Regions from separate parts of the Homo sapiens genome. Here region 2 is linked to region 1. Evidence: promoter capture Hi-C in 16 types of primary human blood cells and fetal thymus (Javierre and others, 2016). All regions are on one chromosome and are shown on one strand. Each heading gives the region's core, a stretch centred on a gene start or on the middle of the fragment in contact. The rest is flanking DNA. Distances are from core to core; before and after follow the strand shown.

Region 1 (4,989 bases), core at 2,115-4,614:
CAGTTTTTGTTAGCATATTAAGGCTCTCTTAAGCTTGAGTTAATATCGAAAACAGTACTGTGGAACTGACTTAATCTGCTTCTCTCTGTGCATGCTTCCTTTATTATTTCTGAAGACTTTAATTTTTTTTTTTTTTGAGACAGGGTCTCACTCTGTCACCTAGGCTGGAGTGCAGTGGCAGTCACAGCTCACTGCAGCCTCAACCTCCCAGGCTCAAGTGATCCTCCCACCTCAGCCTCCTGAGTAGCTGAAACTAGGCGTGCACTACAGGCCCAGCTAATTTTTGTGTTTTATTTGTAGGAATGGGGATCTCACTATGTTGCTAGGACTGGTCTTGAACTCCTGGACTTAAGCAATCCTCCTATCTCGGCCTCCCAAAGTGCTGGGATTACAGGTGTGAGCCACTGCACCTGTCCAAGACTCTTTTTTTTTTTTTTTTTTTGAGACAGGGTCTTGCTTTCTCACCCAGGGTGGAGCGCAGTGGTGTGACCTCAGCTCACTGCAGCCTCAACCTCATGTGCTCAAGTGATCCTCCCACCTCAGCCTCCTGAGTAGCTGGGACTATAGGTGCACACCACCACGTCCTGCTAAGTTTTTTTTTTTTTTTTTTTAGAGATGGGGTTTTGCTATGCTGCCCATGGCTGGTCTTGAACCCGTGAGCTCAAGTGATCCATCATGTGCACCACTGCCCCAGGTGACTTTTTACATAAAGTATAAGAAAACAGATTCCTCCTCTCAATGCCTACAGGAATCCCCTCTGATCTTCTAACTGGTAAAGTACTAAGTTAAAAAAACCTCTTAGCCCTCTGTCTCTCCAAGTTGGGTAGTATTAAATATATGAATCCATTTTTAGCCTGGGCAGCATGGTGAGACTCTGTCTCCATACACACACACACACACACACACACACGCACACACACACACGAAGCTGGATGTGGTGGCACATGCCTATAGTCCTAGCTACTCAGGAGGCTGAGGCTGGAGGATTGCTTGAGTCCAGGAGTTTAAGGTTACAGTGAGCTATGATTGTGCCACTGCACTCCAGCCTGGGAAACGCAGCAAGACCCTGTTTGTTAAACACACACACACACACACACAACACAATAATTTTTTAAAATCCTGAAAACTCTCAGTTAAGTCATTATTATTATTATTTTAGAGATGGGGGTCTTGCTGTGTTGTCTAGGATGGTCATGAACCCCTAGGCTCAAGTGATCCTCCCACCTCAGCCTCCCAAGTAACTGGGAAGACAGGCACGCGTTACCATGTTTAGCTAAATTGTTTTTATTATGCTGTGGTTATTTAAATTTACGAATATAAAGTAGGAAAAATGTGCTTTTATTTCTAGTTCTTACACAGCTAAAAAAAAACCACAACAAATTTACAAATTAAATACAAATGAAACCACAAAATGAATACTATTCAATTAAAAATATTATAGTAATTTAACGTGACAAATGATGTATTTTGCTAAAACTGTCATCCGTCGTATTGTTACTATGGTGTTGCCTGCTATAGCTCAGCTTCTTTTGTGTTCAACATGCCTATGCCACCAAGTGACTCCTGATATCTTAATTTTCTCACCATTTTTCTGTTACAACTACCAAATAGTGCAATCTCATGATGCATTTGGCTTTCATTTTGTGCATGAAAGTATCATTGTCATTTTAAAACCACCTCTGTTCTTTTCTCATTATCCCAGAACAATAAAAGCAGCACTAAAACACACATGTAAATGTGGGTGCTGAAATTGTGTGGCAATACTTGGTTGTAAGGTGGTCACCCAAATAATTCAGAATATGCTTATACAAATCTAAAAAATATGAAAATGAAAATAAAATTAAAACCCTAGAGAATACATTCGCAGACATAATTTGAGAAAAACTGTTCAGGTCTGCTGGTTCCCAAACTTTCATTACTATCAAAGGCTCTAGCTATTGTGCTTACTTCCAAGAACCCCATTTATTTATTTATTTATTTATTTATTTATTTATTTATTTATTCATTATTTCATTCATTCATTCAAAGGCTCTATTGTGCTTACTTCCAAGAACGCTATTTATTTATTTATTTATTTTAGAGACGGGGTCTCACTCTGCCGCCCAGATTGGAGTACAGTGGTGCGATCCTGGCTCACTGCAACCTCTGCCTCCCGGGCTCAAGCGATTCTCATGTCAGCCTCCCGAGTAGCTGGGACTACAGGCTCCCGTCACCAGCCCAGCTAATTTTTGTATTTTTTAGTGGAGACAGGGTTTCACCAAGTTGGCCAGGCTGGTCTCGAACTCCTGGCCTCAAGTGATCCGCCCGCCTCGGCCTCAGAATCCCATGTTTTAAAAAAGTTTGTCTCCTACACTGCATTTATAGTTTTATTAATCAGGCACATAGAATTACCATTTCGGAGCTTGTGATCACCATATGTAGTTATCACTCCAAGCTGCTTAAATTCCAGTCTAAAACAAACAAAACATTCTAATTATTCTGTGCTACCCTGACAGGGGTAAGTGAAAACTTTCCATTCAGGTTTGTAAGAACGAGCTCCCAGACCTCCACCTCTTCCCCTTGCTGCCTCTGAGGACTCTTGGAGGTCTAGGGAGGCCAGTTTGGGTTTTCTTGCTCAAGAAAGTAGCCACCCCACCCAATTTGGAAGGATTAAAGCTTGTCCTAGTTTTGCTTCATTGTTGTACTTCTAGCATGCTAAAGAGCTAAAAAATGGGAGGAAGAAAATACAACAGAAGGCACCATTCCAGTACCAAACTGAAAAGAAACACAAAAACAAGAGAGCAGCATGTTTTTAACAGCTTGCGTGGAAAAAATATTGACTGGGGAGTTTGGACAGCACTGTTCATTTTCTCTCACCGCCCGCGTTATTTGTCTTACGGAGCAGGAGCCAGATACCATTCTGGAGAAAGAGCCGCGGGAAGAGGTGGAGGGGTTCTGTGGAAGTTTGAGTCTGAGCGGAGAAATTAGGGCTGGAGATCCAGTGGCTCAGGGCCAGGAAGAAGTCAGGGGAGGTGCTAAAGCCTTTTTCCTCCTGGCCTCGGGCACTCTCTTTGGTCCGCCTGAGTCTTAAGAGGGCACAGCGCAGATCATTCAGGTAGGTTCCTGGCTCCTTCAGACTACAACGAGCTGGATGAATCCCTGTCCCTGTTTCTTTCGGCTGGGGAAAGGACGCAGGGGTTCCATTCGCTTTCTTAGCCCACCCGTCTTCTTGAGTTCAGACCTACAACTCCTGCAGTGGGGGTCAGAAGGGAGCCTTAATCATCGGGACAGAAACGCGGCTCCCCAACTTCGGCTAAACCAGCGTGGCGGCCTTCGTCCCTACTGCCTGGGCGCGGGGCGGGGCCTGGGCGCGGGGCGGGAGGCGGTGACCAGCAGCAGGAGGAGAAAGAACATGGCGGGCGCATCAGAGCTCGGGACCGGCCCAGGAGCAGCGGGTGGAGATGGAGATGATTCGCTATACCCGATCGCGGTTTTAATCGACGAGCTCCGCAATGAAGACGTGCAGGTACTGGACTGAGGCCGGGGACCCGAGGCGAGACCGGCTGGTCGCGTGGTAGAGAAGGGGGAAGGCCTGCGTCGCGGTGGGGGTGGCCGAGGTACTGAATGAGTCGGACTCGTAGCAGAAACTTGAAGGGGAGGCGGGGAATGCTCCGCGAGGGGCTGTGGTGACACGCCCCGACCCTCCCGGGTACCTCTCTAGTAACCTTGCTTCGGACCCCCTGAGGCGTCCGCCCGGAGCCTTGCCCTTCCCGGGCGGTTGTCGGGGAACCCGCTTCCCGCCTGGGCGCCCCATCCGGGCCGTGAGGTGGCCGCGTCTCTTGGGCGAGGGAGCAGGAGAAGCGCGGTGCCAGGCCGAGACGGGGCTGGAGCGGCTGAGGGGCGCAGGATGCCCAGAAGCCCTTTGAAGTGCCCCTGGATCCCTTCATCTCGGCTTGGAACTGGCTCGGCTTGTTGGGTAGAAAGCGGGGGTGGGATGGCCGATTAATCTGGACGAGTAGTGTATCCGCTCTGTGGGAACTTTTCTTTGAAACCACAGGTGTTGTATTCAACCGTTTCACCTGCTTCACCACTGCCAAAGTGCTCTCTTTTTAAAATTATCTTACTTCCTAGGTGTTGTATTGTCTTTCCTTCATTTCTCTTCCGGTCCCTTCTGAGTGTTTCTCCTGGGAAATCCTCCGCCGGCTAGTGAGGCCGAGTTACACTTCTTTTTGGAAGTCCTTATGAGCTTCCTTAACAGTAAAATCTAAATGAAAGGTTATCTTCATTCTTACCCCTGTGTCATAATTTCACCTGTTAGCACCTTTTGTCTTTTGATCTAAATTCAGCCGTTTCTTTACATTGTTCTTCTTTCTACTTTCTTTTCTGAAGCTCCGACTCAACAGTATTAAGAAGTTATCAACAATTGCCCTAGCACTTGGAGTAGAAAGGACCCGAAGTGAATTGTTGCCATTTCTTACAGGTATGTGAATCTTTGTTTAAAGAAAGGTAGGGACATTCCATTTTCCAGTAGCTTTCAACACTGACTTTTTTAGAGTTTATTACCCACATTAAAATGAGCCAGGTGTTTTTTGTGCAAAAGAAACAGAACAGAGTATATTGTTAGTTGTGGCTAGATATATTCAAACATCAACCATTTAGCTATTGAAAGTAATTGATACGGGAGTATGAATTTCTAATTCGTTGTGCAAAGCAGATACAGGAAGACGGTTGAGAAGAAAGAAAATGCTGTTAGGATTTTGACTGGGTCACCTTCCTGGTCGCATAGTGAATCTGTTCCTAGTTTTGTGTCAGTGTCCAGCTGTGGGAGAGCTATCCATGTTGATGAGTCCTGTTGTTGTCACTTCCAGATACAATTTATGATGAAGATGAGGTACTATTAGCTCTTGCTGAGCAGCTGGGAAATTTCACTGGCCTAGTGGGAGGTCCTGACTTTGCCCACTGTCTGCTGGTGAGTATTTATAAGCTGCCTACCCTCCTTCTACAACTTTT
Region 2 (5,783 bases), core at 474-2,973, 240 kb after region 1:
CTATGAACAAAATTATATGAATTTTTCTGTGTAACTATTGGGAAATCATGGACCAGTTATATTGTCCTGTGCTTCTCATATAAAAAGACAAATATTTAGTTACAAGATTCAAAAATAATAGTAGAATAACAAATATATTCATTCATTTTTTTCCTTGACTTCAAGTTATTTTTTATTATAAAGGACTTTGGTGCCTTTAAATATCACATATCACATAATGCACTAGAAACAAATATTTCAAATATGATCTGATTTCTGCCTCCTGGACATGTTTCCTGGAAATAAATAACAAAACTAGTGTAAACAATTGTGTCATCTAAACAAAAACATTGTGGAATATTCTAGGAAATCTCTGCCAGGAAAGCTAAATACAATTCACTGGTAAGAGAAGATCCTTATAACTTATATTATTAGTAAGGAAGCATAACTTACTTCTTAATTTCATATTAACAAAAAATTTTCATTTCTAATTATAGTGTTTTGGTTGGGCTTATTAATGGAATTTTATAAGACTTTATAATTATTCAATTAACTGTTAATACAAGGGGGTCAGAATTTATCTTTATAACATCTTTGACCATTGACTAGTGACTTATATTTATATTTTTATTTATGATTTATATTTATACTATTCCTGAAAAAATAAATTGTGAAAGAAAACTGATTCCAGAAAATTAGGATGTGATATAACATATACATTTAATGTGTTATAGATGGTTAATGAATTTTAATGTCACCTCAAGAGTTAAATTGTCTGGTTCTCTCTTTTTGGCTTTTCAGAGCCAAATGACTTGAGTGGCAATATGTATTAGTAGAGTCAAATACATTTGGTTTGAATCCCAGTTCCGCTGTGTGTTGAATGGCAAGTTCTAGCTTAACTCTCCCGCCTGGTTCCTCCTTTCCCCACCACAACTATGCAGTAATCACTGACATGTAAGTTAGAGCTTCGTGATCTTAGGTAAACCAAAGAATCCACAATCCCAGTTGTGGATTTCTAATCTGTGAGGAAGGTTGTTGTGAAAATTGGAGATAAAAATTACTTAATGAAATGCATGACAGATGGTGAACATTTAATAAATGGTAGTTATTATAACACTATTATTATTAGAAAATTTTTCTTTCAGTGCTTTTAAAATCTTGAAAAGAGTAAGAAAAAAGAGGACAGATTGTCTGCTTTTTGTCTACAGGCATGAAGGAATTCTTACGATTCAACCTCTGACCTATGGGTCAGTTGGTGAATACAGTTTGAGGGAGGAAAGGAGAAACAAGGAGAGATGTTAAAGATATGATTTGTTATTAAATATGCAGTGCAAATTCTTCTGACCACGAATTTTCTGGTGTGTTATCAACTTTCTTTTCAGTTAATATTCAATTATAAAAAAAGCTCTTAATAAACACTAGACTTTAGAAGAAAGGTCCTTTCTTCTCAAGACCTGGTTCCCATATACAAACTGCATTTCTTTCGTGGATTATGATTGAAATTTTTGGACTGAAACATTCATCAAAAATAACACGAGGGGCCGGGTGCGGTGGCTCATGCCTGTAATCTCAGCATTTGGGAGGCTGAGGCAAGAGGATCATGAGGTCAGGAGTTCGAGACCATCCTGGCCAATATGGTGAAACCCCGTCTCTGCTAAAAATACAAAAATTAGCTGGGTGTGGTGGTGCACGCCTGCAGTCCCAGCAACTCGGGAGGCTGAGGCAGGAGAATCGCTTGAACCCAGGAGGCGGAGGTTGCAGTGAGCCGAGATTGCACCACTGCACTCCAGCCTGGCGACAGAGTGAGACTCTGTCTTAAAAAAAAAGAAAAAGATTAAGAGAAAATAATATGAGTCTCATTTTAACACTATGAGCAAGCCAATCTTCTGTCTTTTAATCAGGATGTGGATACTTGAGTGATCATGCCTTTAGTAATCTAGTCATCATCCTTTGAGAGTTACCCTTTTAGTCAAAGCATTTCCATTTAATGCTAATGCTTATTTTGAACCTGCTAAAATTTTATTTTTCAATCATGGGTTTGGAAAAAAAAGGAAGAGGGGGAAGCAGAGAAGATAAAAACAAACTTTCACTGAGTAACTGCTAGATATCAGGCCTTGTGTGAGTTCCTTATAGGTTATCTCATTTTATCTTTATAGCACAGTGAAGTGGGCATTATTATTATTACCTCTTTACAGGTAGAAGAAACTAAACCACGTAAAAATGAACAACTTTTATCAGGGTCACTTAACTAACTAGTAACTGGCAGAGCCAAAGATTTAAACTCATTTCCAGTTCTGTTGGATGTCATTTCCTGTGCTTCTTTTGCCACACTTCAAACACACAGACTTCAAACACACACAGACTTCAGACACATGCACACACACACACACAGAGTGACAGAATGGTTTCTTCATTCAATCTTTACTCTAAAAATGAGTTAGCATCAACCATGCTGAAGAAGAAAAATATAGTCTCTGCTCTCACAGAAACATTCTTATTCTTGTAGAAAACGCATGCTTATCAGAATACAGCAGGTGGAGCTAATCCAGCTTGAGCTCAGCCTTGATCATAGTTAATTTACTTATTTGAAGGTATCATGTGGCTCTTTGCAAGATGTGGCTAAAGGGTAAAGATAGTTGAATTATAGTGGTATTTATAAACTGAGGAGCTTTCTAAGATCGTAGTGTAAATGAAATATTTATGCAAGGATTTTAAATTATAAATTAATTGTAAAATGGGAATTACATTCCAAATTCAGAATATTACCTAGGCAGAGCCAAGGTTCTATGGTTTAACAGAAATTGAGAACATTATCTGATTTTTATTTCCTTGAGCCTCCAGAATTTAATTTTCTTTTTTTTGAGACAGGGTCTTGCTCTCCACTCAGGTGGAAGTGCAGTGGCACCATCAGGGCTCACTGCCACCTCCACCTCCTGCCCCCTGGGCTCAAGCAATCCTCCCACCTCAGCCTCCCAAGTAGTTGGGACCACAGGCACATGCCACCACGCTTAGTTAATTAAAAAACGATTTTTTTTTTTTTGGTAGAGATGAGGTCTCCCTGTGTTGCCTAGGCTAGTCTTGAACTCCTGGGCTCAAGCCAGTCTCCCACTTTGGTCAGCCTCCTGAAGTGCTGGGATTGCAGGCATGAGCCACCATACCTAGCCTTAATTTTTAATTCTATCCCAGTGATTGAGAGTTAACTGTCTATAGGTGTACTAGGGAATTTCAGTTCACATTCTGCAAGAATCTCACTCCTCAGTGGGTTCCATTTCATTTTTATGTTACAAATGCAATCATTAGGAAGGTGAGAATTATGATTGACTTAAGGTTTTTATTGATTTATCATTTTAAAACATCTCATATTTGGGCCTGGTTTCAAAAAGCAGTATGCATCTTGGCTTGCTGATTTTGATAACAGAATGCTTCAACTATGAATTTACTCTATGAATTTACTACCATTCCCTGTGCCTATTAACTGAAATCTGCTATGTTGATTCTACAACTACCATATAGGAAATTTATATCTACTCTAATAATAAGATACAGAACTGTTGGACCTCAAATTATCTACTATGCACTTTAAAAGACAGGCTGAATAATCAGTGAGAAGGCTTTCCCCAGTATAATCTGATTTTAAAAGATAGACCTAACTATAGTAATCTATGGGAGTGGATCGAAGATGTTACAGGATTATTAATCAGAGAAAGGAAGAATGCTGACTTGCAGGAAAAAGATGCAGATCTAAGCACCTTTCTATACCTCCTGGAAATTGCTTGATCTTGGCTCAACTCCTAGGTCTGACATATACACTTTTCATTTGAAAAATAACAACTTACTAAAATGAGAAAAAAAATTAGTCATTATATAAGAGGGAGTCAATACAATTTTTCTTAAATGCAGATTTCAATCAAGTATGAATTTATCTGTTGTGAGGAAGAAAAAAATGTGTATTTTCTTGGTTCTGTTACATATATTTTCTTAGATCTGTTACATATATTTTACCAATAATAATTGCCTGAAGAACGTACATGCATGCACACACAAAATGCATGCAGAGCAGAAGTACAAGTGATTTAAAAAACTGCTTTAATATTGCTTTAAAAGGCACTTATTTTAAAAAAGTAATAAGTGAGATTTGTATTTTAATATTGAGAAAATATGAGCATAAAATGAGCACTGCATTTTAAAATTCAACAAAGTATACATATATTGAGGGTAACTCTATATGATTGAATTATATGTTATTGATGATTCAGTTTGCAATAATTATCAAAGCTTTTCCTTAGCAAAGACTACTGAGTCTTGAAGATTTTCATTGTTGCTGGTTATATGAGCTATGATGAGTGGGTGAATGATACTGACCTCATCTTTCAGATATGTCTTTCCTGTTCTGCCCATAATGACTTAAGAAGGAGAGGTTAGGGATTCCCCACACAGATGACCTCAAACTTCATCTCTGGCTCATACTTCTTCTTTGAGTTTCTAGCCCATATATTCACAGGCCTATCTGACAGTTCACCTGCTTTTCTCAAAAGCATCTCAAACTAGGTAAGTCTAAACTAAACTTGTAGCCCCTCCCCCACAAAACCCCCCAAACCTGATCTTCATCTAATGTTTCCTGTTTCAGAGAATGACACTACCCATCCTGTTAGGCAAGCGGCCAGAAAACTGAGTTATCTTTGATACTTTGCTGTACCTCACCTCCCATATCCAGTATATAACCCTAAATACTAGTTATTTTACTTCCTAACTATCCCTTCAATCTATCTGGTCTTTCTCATCTACCTGCATGATCCTAATTCACATCGCATCACCTCCTGACTGAAGTTTTGTGATGGCCTCCAGTCTGGTTTTTCCACTTCTGCTCTGGCCACTTTCAATACATTCTCCATATTACAGTCTGCTGATCTTTCTCAAGCAAATGTGATATTCTCATTCCCCAATTTAAACCCTTCAGTAGCTTCTTACTGTTCTTACTGGAGCCTAACCTTCCTCCCATATTACCACATTGGCCATTGAGCTTTTGACATGTGCGGTGCCTGTTCCCAGAAGAGGGTCTTTGCACATGCTGTTTTCGCTGCCTGGAATGCTCTTCCAATGTTCCCTCCACCACCTCCTTCTGACCTAGTTAATGCCCGCTCTTCCTTCAAATCTCAGTCTGGTTAATCTTTGTAGAAATCCTCCCTGATTCCCTTGATTGGATCAATACCACCCTATTAAGTTATCCTAACATCACTGTAATTCTTTCAGAAATATTTATCTCCCTGATTAGACTCCAAATTTCATATAAGGGCAGAGTTCGTGTCTTTGACCCATTTCCCATTTGCCCCAAGAACACTGTGCTGGCAGTGAGCTGCACTTCTTTTTTCTAAATGGGAAATAGGTTAAAACATGTTTTGTTGTCATTGTCCATCATTGTATGCCAGTTCCTAGCACAATGCCAGGCACATAGAAGTGCTCAATAAATATTTGTTGAATGAATCTTGCACAATTCTTCCAAATAAAATTCTCCCATCTTTTGGGCCCATGATTCATCTTACTGTTTATGGCTTTGCTTGGCCCTTCTTGCCTGAACTTGACATTGCCTTTTCAGTGTTGACCTCTAACTTGCCTAGATTTCTTCTGAAGCCTACAGAGTTTTCAGTTGCTTCTGGCCAACATTCTGTAGAGTTCAGCTTGGCTCCATGATTTCAGTGCAGGGCGCCCACATGTCTGGAGTAAAACCTAAACAATGTCCAATCCAACCTCACACATACAGACTAATGTCTATACTTATACTACCAGCTATTTTATCTATTGGCAGC

Evidence for each region. The method cuts DNA at HindIII sites, captures the fragments that hold promoters and counts their contacts. A CHiCAGO score of 5 or more calls a contact.
Region 2: a contact is called between a fragment that was not itself captured here and the fragment with the promoter of PPP2R1B in region 1, in 3 of 17 cell types (naive CD4 T cells, fetal thymus and naive CD8 T cells). The highest score is 6.2, in naive CD4 T cells.

The regions. Positions count from the first base shown.
Region 1 is chr11:111,764,764-111,769,752 of GRCh38, reverse strand. It overlaps PPP2R1B (protein phosphatase 2 scaffold subunit Abeta), which reads left to right and starts at 3,364. Exons shown (of 15, transcript NM_002716.5): 1 at 3,364-3,505; 2 at 4,369-4,459; 3 at 4,848-4,948. The coding sequence starts at 3,392. It also overlaps a transcript of ALG9 not described here. RefSeq lists enhancers at 3,299-3,348, 3,369-3,548, 3,435-4,338. The HindIII fragment of the contact is 3,920 bases long and covers 2,658-4,989 here.
Region 2 is chr11:111,525,396-111,531,178 of GRCh38, reverse strand. All of the region lies in intron 3 of HOATZ (HOATZ cilia and flagella associated protein), which reads right to left. Among named protein-coding and RNA genes, the nearest start is that of LAYN, 12 kb to the left of the region's middle. The HindIII fragment of the contact is 5,067 bases long and covers 1-4,256 here.